3 separate regions of the Homo sapiens genome follow, and regions 1 and 2 are each linked to region 3. Evidence: promoter capture Hi-C in 16 types of primary human blood cells and fetal thymus (Javierre and others, 2016). All regions are on one chromosome and are shown on one strand. The core of a region is centred on a gene start or on the middle of the fragment in contact, and the rest is flanking DNA. Distances in the headings are between cores, read along the strand shown. Region 1 overlaps KATNAL1 (katanin catalytic subunit A1 like 1). Region 2 holds the start of HMGB1 (high mobility group box 1). Region 3 holds the start of ALOX5AP (arachidonate 5-lipoxygenase activating protein).

Region 1 (3,133 bases), core at 360-2,859, 490 kb before region 3:
GCATTTCACCATCACTTGCACCATCTTGCATATTCTTCCTTCCCTGGGGATAGGTATAAAAAAAAAGTACTAGTCAGTAATGGATAATTTAGTTAACATCATTACGCTTTGAAAACATTATAATGCCATCACTTTCTAAATAATTTTTATTATTTTAAGGTAGTATTTTCTGATTACTCAAATGCCATTCTCCTCTATTTAATTCATCAGAAATACATGAACTGGTCAACTTTATTAAAAACTTCAAATCTACATTCTTGCAGGAACAGTTGCATGCAGGTAAGACTAAACTGATCCTTGCTAGATCCCAAAAGACTGGGAAAGCCTACCTTTGAACTGGTAGACGCAGAGGATTTCCACCACTACTAGAAAACATTTTGAATATTAATGTGGAAGGATCTTTTTAAATAGTATTAAGACCATTAAAGCAATATGCTTTACCCCAAATTCTTCATTTAATAATATAGTTGTTTTAAAAGAAATTTTATGCTATGGTTTCTATGGGGTTCTGCCAAGATTCACACAGCTTTGACGAGCTTTAAATGAAATTCACTTATTTGCCAGAGACAGTCCAACTATGGAAATACTTCAGCAAGCACAGCCAAGTGCCTCCCCAGAGCTTTAGCCCCAGTTACTGCCTAGAGTAAAAACAAAACAAGAAAATGGTCAAAATGAGTCAATCTCCTAAACTTCAACCGGAAAAGAGACAAGAGAACAAGACAAACTTCTCCAATCCCACTTCTGAGATAGTCAAAAGGCTCAATCATAAGTGCTGGAGGAAACTAAATGGCTCCCTTGGACAGATGCTCTGGTTCCTTCAAGCCACTAGGTAAGTGACCAAACAGTATTCTGGTACTTCACCCAAAAAAATAAATTATTTCTGGGCAGTATGGCGGTAGCATTAAATTTATTAGTAAATTTTCCCGAAGATTCTTGCATTCCAGATGACAGATATCAATACTGACAATATTAAAAGGAGTAAATTTTTGGCACCTACACAAGAAACATAACATCAACAAACTTAAGCTTAGGCTAGAGTCAAATTTTATAGTACAGATAGGCCAAGGCTACCAAGTCATATTCAAACAAATCACTAGGAACATTCTGTAATCATTTAAAAACTATTCTAGAAACGTATCAACGAAAGAATACAACAGAAACTGACATATCTGGAGCTTGAGCCTTCATATGGCACTGTAATTTACACTTATCAAGTTAAAATTAAAATTTCATTTTAATATGAATGTCCAAGTGGCTGGAAAGAACTTAATAAACACTACCTCAGGAGAAAGAAAAAGCTGCATGCCTATCTGAAAGTAATAGGAGTATCATAGGATTTTAAAAACAGTAAATATTTGGGCATCTTCTACGTGCAATACATGCTATTGTGCATTAGGTTTTAGAGCAGTGAATGAAAATACATTATCTGCCCTCATCAAGCATCTAGTCTAGTGGGGGAAACGAGTAACAAGTAAATAAAGCAAAAACACACATAAACTGTGAAGTGCTGTGAAAAAACCTGAGTAGCCAGTATAATAAAATGTATTGCGCAGAAGAAAGAGGTTGAAGATATGGGCAGAGGTGAGTTTGGATTTCTTCTGGCTCCTATAGAGGACGGGGTAGAGGAGGAGAATCAAAGAACTAAAAGCCTCTCACTACACTGAAGAAGAAGTGTGTGTATAGGCCAGTTAAATGACCTGCCCGAGAACCCAAAGTTTCTCAGTGGTACACATGAGACTTGAATACCGATCGAGGACTACAAAAAAGATTCTGGAAACGTTTTCAAATCAAAATGGTGAGGTTATAAAAAACAGACATAGGAAAACTAAAATTAATTTGGTTATGCCAGGAAATCAGTAAAATGGGTGACAGTTATTCTTCATAAAAAATACTTAAATTAGAATACAGACATCAAATATAAACAGCTAGATTAAATGCAATACCTAAAGGAAACTATTAGTTAAAGGAAATAAAGCTAACCTCTCCAAGATATTACTAAGTGTACATAAATACTACTAACTGCAATGTCACTGAAATGATCTTAGAATTCTTTCCTTAGATTTTCATATGAGTTGACTAAGGTCAACATTAGCAAGAATTTGATTTTTAGCATGAAGGTTGATATACTTTTTTTCTCATGAAAGCAAAATATTTTAGCTTCTTTTTACTAACATCAAAATTTCCCATATCAAGAAAGCTTTGTTACTCATCTTTCATTAGTGTTGGATAATCTTCTATTTGAGGAAAATTAGGCTCAAAGTGACTAACCAAATATTACAGAGCCAATTAATGATATAGTTTGCCCTAAAATGCAAATGTTTCTTACATTTTACTATGCAACCTCTCACACTGGCAGATTAAGTAAAACATGATCAGTTACTAGCTCTGGGTCTTGCATTTTAAGAGAAATACTGATAAATTACACCCAGGGAAGAATAATCAAGATGATAAAGGGTTCAAAACCCATGTCATATGGAGGAAGACCAAGGAAACTAGAGACATTTAAGCTGAAGAAGTAAATTCTAATGGGGCAATACAACCAACAGGCCTACTAGGTATTAAGCCAAAAAAAAAAAAAAAAAAAAAAAAAGCAAGGGCCAGTAACAAAAGAGATAGATTTCAGATCAGCAAAAGAAAGAATTTTCTAACAATAGATTCTGTCCAACAGACGAATCAACTCATTAGGTAGTAAGCTACCACGCATCGGAAATTACTGGCCAATTAGTAATAAAAATCACTGGGTCATAGTCACACGGATGTCTAAGCTTAATTATAGCTGATCTTTTTCCTGTAAAGCCACTGCCTCTCACTTGCCTAATTTATTCATCTGTTGCCTGATTTCAATGGCCCAAGGAAAGTGCAAAATTTCTTGGAAATCTCATTATTTTTCTTTTTTTTAAATTATACTTTAAGTTCTAGGATACATGTGCAGAACGTGCAGGTTTGTTCCATAGGTATACACGTGCCATGGTCATTTGCTGCACCCATCAACCCATCATCTACATTAGGTATTTCTCCTCATGTTATCCTTCCCCTAGTCCCCCACCCCCCAACAGGCCCCAGTGTGTGATGTTCCCCTCCCTGTATCCATGTCTTCTCATTGTTCAACTCCCACTTATGAGTGAGAATATGT
Region 2 (3,464 bases), core at 587-3,086, 270 kb before region 3:
TTGTCCGCTTTTGCCATATCTTCAAATTTTCCTTTCTCTTTAGCAGACATGGTCTACAAAATAATTATTTGTAAGTTTAAGTTGTAACATTTAAGTAAATTATCCTCAAAACCAATGTCTTTTGCTATGTAATAGCGTCCCACTACGAGAATGCCAACTAGGCTTTTTTTTGCATCCTCAATTGGAAACTGTCTTTTAATTACCTTGTTAGCATGTTTTAAGCCCTCTTACCTTCCACCTCTCTGAGCACTTCTTAGAAAACTCTGAGAAGTTGACTGAAGCATCTGGGTGCTTCTTCTTATGCTCCTCCCGACAAGTTTGCACAAAAAATGCATATGATGACATTTTGCCTCTCGGCTTCTTAGGATCTCCTTTGCCCATGTTTAGTTATTTTTCTAAAAAATAAAATAAATATTTGATGTTAGCAATAAAATTATGACATATAAGACCTTAAAGTACTTAGTAAGGGAATGAAAACCAAAGTACTGGTTATTTAACACAGTAGCGACATCAACCTCCGTAAAATCAGACAAGAATATGGCCGAGAGATTAAATTCCTTGAAGGGGCTATGCCAAGCAAACAAAACAAAACAAAAACAGTCCTTCAGGGCGATCTCAAAAAGTCTAGACACAAAGATATACCCATACAGTATTCCCTATCTATCCGCCCGAGTCTGCTCTGAATGAGTATCTAACTGGTCACTTAAACGATTTTAAAATCTAGAACACCATTTTAAACCAACCAAACCAAAGGTCAGAAAACATGCTGCCAATTCGTGGCTTTGCACTAGATAGGGAATAAACAAGGGCCTAAGCGAGTCGACTCTTCCTAATTATGGGACCTTAAAAAAAAAAAATCACCGTGCACCGAAAGTTTCAAAAAACACCCTCTTTGCATAAAACTTTGCTCCAAAGAGGGAGCAGCAGCCAGCTCCGGTGCTCGGAACCCGGTTGGGGGGTGGCGGTGCCACCGCGAGGCAGCCTCGTTTCCTATCGGTTTGGCCCTGAGATGTATTTCTGTTCTGACTAAACACGTCCGGTCTGAAGTTTCTCCGAGTAAACAAGGATGAGGGACAAAAGCCACTCCTGCTCGTGGCTCGGTGGCCCCCTCCCCCAACTCGGGAAGTATTTTTTGGAGCCGTGAAAGTTGGGGTGACTCCTGCGCGGGGCGAGCCCCCCGCCCCTAGAACTTCGCCGGTGGCCGCGCGGCCGAGGAGAGAGGACGCGGCCCGGCTCCCAGGCCCGAGGCCGCCACGTGCGCCCGGCAGGCCCTGCAGGCCCGCGCCGCCGCCGCCCCCATTTTGTCAGGCTCGGCGCAGGGAGAAGCCCCGCTCGAAATGGGGGCTGGCTCCGCCCGCGGCCGCCGGGGCCGGCGCGCACGGAATGGCCGCTGCGCGTCTTCTCCGCCTGCGCCGCCGCCGCCGCGAGGGCGAGCGCGAGCGAGAATATGGCTCCTTCCCTTTGTGTGTGTGTGTGTGTGTGTGTGTGTATGAGAGAGTGTGTGAGTGCGAGGGTGCGGGCGCGGCGGCGGCGGCGGGCGGGGTGCGAGCCGCGCTCTGGCGCACACACTCGGCCATTACGGCCGGGGGAGGGGCGGGGGGCGCGCGGCCGGGCCCTCCCCTCCGCGCCGCTCCCCTCCCCCCGCCGCGGTGGGGGCCGCCCGAGGGCCCACCCGCCCGCCACTCCCCGTCTCCCTCCGCGCGGGCCGCGCGCCCCGCCGCCCCCGCACGGAGAACGCGGGGCTGTGAAAAGAGAGAGGAAAAAAAAAGTTGCCTCGGAACTGCTGCGCCCAGCTCCCCCGCCCGCCCGCCTTGTTTTCTCTCCAGCCAGCAGCGCCGGGCCCGAGTCAGCCATGTTCCAGCGAGCGCAGCGGCGCCGCTCCCCCCGCCGCCCGGCCGCCGCCGCCGCCGCGACCGGGCCGAGGCCGGCCGGGCCCGCACTGCCGCCCCCAGGCCCCCGCGCCGCCCTCGCCCGCCGCGGCGCCCCGCCCGCCCCGCCGCCCGCCCGGCTGGCCGCGCTCCCCGCCAGCGCCCGGCTCGCTGCGGCGGCGGCCAATGCAGCCCGGGGAAGCGCCGCCGCTGCCCTCCCGCCGCCGCCGCCGAGCCGCGCCGGCCCCGCCGCCCCGGCCGCGCTCCGCGCACGCCGCCCGCCCGAACGCCCGGCCCGAGGGCCCAAAACACGTTCAAAATTTTTTTAATTAAAAAAAAAATTTTTTTTTTTGCGCCAGTCAGCGCGGACGCCGCCGGGGGTGGAAACTCGCGGGGCGCGGGGCTCCCGGCGCCTCAGGCTGCCTGAGGGCCGGGGCACCGGCGCGGGGCAGCGTTCCCGGCGCCCGGGCAGAGGCTCGCTCCGTGCGCAGTTCCCCCCACGGTCCCCCCTCATTTGCCTTTGTGTGGATCCTGACCCGCCGGCTCCCGGCCGCGGGGATCCGGCCGCCGCGCGGGCTGGGGAGCTGCCGGAGGCGCTCTCCCCGCCGCGGCGCTGCCCCAGACTCACCCTCAGCGAGGCACAGAGTCGCCCAGTGCCCGTCCGGCTCTCACTTGCCCCGGTGCTGTCTCTATGGAGCTCAATGTACTGCAATGGCTGTGAGAGCGGGAGCCAGACGCAGCCTCCTCACTCTCTCCGCTCTGTAACATTACTCTCCAGCCAGCGCGGCTCCTATTGGCTACCGCCAACTCACGGGGCTCGCTCATTGGCCCGATACCTCCCATTGTCCTGACCAGAGCCCGTTTGCTATTGGCTGTCTCCGGGGACACGTCATCAAGGATTGAAACAGCGCGCAAATCTGAATGTGTGTGTATGCCGGGCAAAGAGGCTGAGGCGGGAGAGGCAGAGGCAGAGGCAGCAGCTGCTACGGGAAAGCAGAGCTCTATGGTGTATGTGTGCATGTGTCTAACCCAAGCCAGCCCCACACCGGAGCGGCCGCCGGAGCGAAAAGGGCCTGACTTTTCCACAAGTGTCTCCAACTCCTCAGGCAAAAGAGACACCCACAGGTCTCCCCCCCCCTTCTTGCCCCACATTCACGCCCAAAGCCGTTGAGATAAGAGGCCCCAGGCTTTTAATGGCCCTTCAAAAGTGAGGGCGACACTATGGGATCATGTCCCCTGAAAACTGGGGTCTCTGCTGGTGCTGAGGGGCGGAAGCCGCCGAGCCTCGAGCCCCTCAAAGGTCTCTGATTGCGTTACACTTTAGGTCTCTGGAAAGGCAGGGCTTCTATAAGAAAGTGACATGATCCAGCCAGCCGGGTTTAAAATACCCCTTTTCTGGGCTCATAAGCCGTCACGTCAGGCTCGCTGAGCAGCTGAAATCTTGAGTCAGTGAGCAGGCATTCAGTTTCACCCTTTTTCTTGGTTTGATCGAGTTTCACAGCATGTCTAGAACTTTTTATTTAAATACAAAGCACTGTCTTAACTTCCTGGAAATCAAATAATTATTCCATGTAATTAAAGAACAGCCACTTGGTT
Region 3 (3,448 bases), core at 502-3,001:
TGGGCCATCCATCTTCTCCTGCCCTTGGACACTGGAGCCCCTTGTTCTCCAGCTTTTGGATTCAGACTGGGTCTTGCACCATTGCCCTCCATCTTCTCCTGCCCTTGGACACTGGAGCCCCTTGTTCTCCAGCTTTTGGATTCAGACTGGGTCTTGCACCATTGCCCTCCTTGATGCTCAGGCCTTTGAATGCAGACTGGTCTCCACCAGCAGCTTTTCTGAGTCTCCAGCTTGCAGATGGCAAACCATGAAACTTCATGGTGTCCATGAGCATGTGAACCAATTTCTATTATAAATCTGCAATATATATATATGAGGAGACTTATTTATATATTGGTTCAGTTTCTCTGGAGAGCCTTGGCTAATATAAAGTCTATACTCTACAAAGTGCCCTAGGTACTCAGGGAGTACCCAAGTGTGTCATGACCAGCCCGACAGCCCTGGCTGCTGGCTTCCCCGCACACAACTCTGCACGCTGCCTTCATCAGCCTTTCTCTCTCAGCTGAACCGAGGGCATTGAAGCGGGCCTCTGGCACTGTACCTATGAGGGAGCAATATCTTCCCCTACACTGACCTCTTCCGTGCCGAGATGCAGCCCTCCCTGCTGCCACTAGTTACAGTGGTCCATGTTCCCTTTCAAAGTGAAGTTTTGATAAAAGCACCTCTTAACCAATGCCAAATAGCTAAGTCTGGGACAAAGATTGCAGGTATTTTGCATTTTCCATGTAACCTCAGAGGGATTGCCATTCACACTGATCTGAGCTGCAGAATACCAGGCAGCCACCTCACCCACCCAGCAGGTCCACTCTTATACTTTCTCAGAAAGCACAGCCACTCTACTCTTATTCAGTTGAAAAGAATTTCCAGGAAGGTGTTTCTGCGATTGCCTCAGAAAAGTCAGTTCCCTTTGGGAATTTCCCTTAGGGATCATCTGTAACTCCATTTCTGCCTTTTACCTGAATTCTTTGGTTTGGTTTGAATTCTTTGGTTTAATTTATGAATTCCCTTTATTACTTTTCTCTGAAGAAATGGAGATATCAGCTGTCCCTCCCCACTGCCATTTATTCCTTCCTTCATTCAAACCTTATGTGGCTGCTACTTACCGTGTGTTAAGTGTTCACTTTTTTTCTTGGAATTCAAAAAAAGAAGGACAGTATTTGGGGCACAGATCTTTTGGTGTTCTATACATTTTTTTAAAGTTTCATTTTACATTTGTGTGTGCGTGTGTGTGTGTGTGTGAGACAGTCTTGCTCTGTTGCCCAGGCTGGAGTGCAGTGGCATAATCATTGGCTCACTGTAGCCTCAAAGTCCTGGGCCCAAGCAATCTTCCCACCTCAGCCACCCAAAATGCTGGGGTTACAGGTTTATGCCACTCTGTCTGACCTGAAAGTTTTGGGTTTACTTTCCCTTCTTTCTCTTTGCTGAAGTCAGAGATGATGGCAGCTTCCAGATTCTCTGGTGCCTGTGCTGGGCTCGTGCTGGTCATGGTCTTGGGTCCAGGATTCATTCTGGAGACTCTCAGGGAAGTTTCCCATGACAAGGAAATGTAGGAGAGTGTGCTGGCTTTGCGTGCTCCTCTGCCAAGCCCTGCTTCTCCTGGTGGGACACACTGAACCACAGCCAGGGCATTTTGGTGGTTAGTTAAAAAAAAAAAAAAAAAAAAAAAAAGGAAGAAGAAGGCACTGTGTAATTGTGCCGGGGATCTTCAGAAATTGTAATGATGAAAGAGTGCAAGCTCTCACTTCCCCTTCCTGTACAGGGCAGGTTGTGCAGCTGGAGGCAGAGCAGTCCTCTCTGGGGAGCCTGAAGCAAACATGGATCAAGAAACTGTAGGCAATGTTGTCCTGTTGGCCATCGTCACCCTCATCAGCGTGGTCCAGAATGGTAAGGAAAGCCCTTCACTCAGGGAAGAACAGAAGGGGAGATTTTCTTTGATGGTTGTTTGGAAGTCAGGCTTAAACAATTGTGTCTGTGTGTGCGCATGCACAAACACTTTTACCTTATCTTTATTTTCTTCTTTTTATTTGAATGTATAGGGTTGTGTGTATTTCTGTGTAAATTTGGGGTTTTCCTCCTCTTAGTCTTTCACTTTTGTGGTGATTACCAGTCCCATTTTTAGAGCCAGGGCTGCAACTTGAAGGTTTTGCTAAAACCCTCACCGAAGTGTCTATGATCAGCATTTTAACTATTAATTAATGTGGCCAGGCAAGGGGTGGAAGGTGAGAAGACTAGAAAGGGAACATGATATACACATTTACTCAGATACTGGGCTTTTCTAACATCTGCAGTGCAATTGAAGTTACCAGTCATCTGCAGTCTAAAAAGAAAGTGATTTTGGGAGGTGCGTAGAAAAAATCATCTTATTATTTTTCCTCTATATTACTTTTTTCTTTTTTTCTCCTGAAGAAACTTTTTTTTTTGGTGATACCTTCTTTTTCTCTAGCACGTATAATTTTGGAAGCATTTTTCATATGCAGTGTATACTTCAGAAAGAGAGAGAGAGAGAGGAAAATTGTCCTGTTCAGCGTTTGCATTTCCATTATTCCTGCTATTAGTTAAAAACAACAACAACAACAAAAAACAAGCAGGATACCTAGATCTGGAAAAGGGAGAATTGTGTAGAGCTGTCTTCCTAAAGTTCTGAGTTAGGGCTGCCTCAGACCACTTTCATAACTATCTCCAGTGGCTTTGTGTTTTATATTTATTAAGATAGAGAAAAAAAGAGTAATTACTAAGGGCAGCTGCTGTAGCTTTATGGTGATTACTGAACATTGACATGCTGTCACGTTTTTGGAACTTTGAGTATTTAATCACTTTGGGATATTCTATTTTCCCCCATCTTGAGTGTGGACAGATGCTGGTGATGTAGCCTTCTGGGCACAGAGCAAGCCTCCCCCTCAGCCTCTGCACCAGAAAGGCTCAGCTTCACACACTCCAAGTATGTTTTCTACAAGAACTACACTTTGTGGCTTTCTGACCCAAACATTTTTATACTAAATTACACACAACAAAGTTGTAGCTCAGAGAGGGAACAAATGGCTTATTTAGGCCACCATTTTCTTGAGCCATTATGATTTCACACAGGGCTCCCTTGGCCCTGTAAATTGGCAAGGATTCCATTATTCAACCCGCATACATGTACAGAGACCCTGCTCTGGCCCAGATAGTATTCTGGGTACAGGCGGATAGAGCAGGAAACAAAACAGCTACAGTGATGGACAGGTCAGCCTGCAGCAATGCCTGCAGTCTCTGCAAAGGTAGCTGTATGGGTGGGCAGGTGGCTAGCACTTATTCAGCTCTGGAAGGATCTCCCCTCTGGCCTCTCCCCTGACACCCATCAATAAAACTGAGGAGCATCGGTGGACAGGGGACCTTGTGCCCCCTCCCTGCCTGTGCAGTTGGGGCTGAACCCAGCTACGAAGTTTGAGCTCACTCTCTCCAGCTCCCT

What was found. The method cuts DNA at HindIII sites, captures the fragments that hold promoters and counts their contacts. A CHiCAGO score of 5 or more calls a contact.
Region 1: a fragment that was not itself captured here is called in contact with the fragment with the promoter of ALOX5AP in region 3 in 1 of 17 cell types (naive B cells); the score reaches 5.5 in naive B cells.
Region 2: a contact is called between a fragment that was not itself captured here and the fragment with the promoter of ALOX5AP in region 3, in 3 of 17 cell types (neutrophils, naive B cells and fetal thymus). The highest score is 10.3, in neutrophils.

Annotation. Positions count from the first base shown.
Region 1 is chr13:30,241,044-30,244,176 of GRCh38, forward strand. KATNAL1 (katanin catalytic subunit A1 like 1) reads right to left here. Exons shown (of 11, transcript NM_032116.5): 5 at 1-43. It overlaps LOC102723381 (a long non-coding RNA gene), which reads left to right. Exons shown (of 4, transcript XR_007063741.1): 3 at 211-279; 4 at 565-874. Among named protein-coding and RNA genes, the nearest start is that of KATNAL1, 65 kb to the right of the region's middle. The HindIII fragment of the contact is 1,171 bases long and covers 1,025-2,195 here.
Region 2 is chr13:30,463,300-30,466,763 of GRCh38, forward strand. HMGB1 (high mobility group box 1) reads right to left here and starts at 2,637. Exons shown (of 5, transcript NM_002128.7): 1 at 2,497-2,637; 2 at 232-395; 3 at 1-53. The coding sequence starts at 381. RefSeq lists silencers at 1,061-1,700, 2,300-2,609 and enhancers at 2,045-2,820, 2,821-3,464. The HindIII fragment of the contact is 4,528 bases long and covers 1-3,464 here.
Region 3 is chr13:30,733,792-30,737,239 of GRCh38, forward strand. ALOX5AP (arachidonate 5-lipoxygenase activating protein) reads left to right here and starts at 1,752. Exons shown (of 5, transcript NM_001629.4): 1 at 1,752-1,884. The coding sequence starts at 1,815. All of the region lies in intron 2 of LOC124903146 (a long non-coding RNA gene), which reads right to left. The HindIII fragment of the contact is 8,013 bases long and covers 1-3,448 here.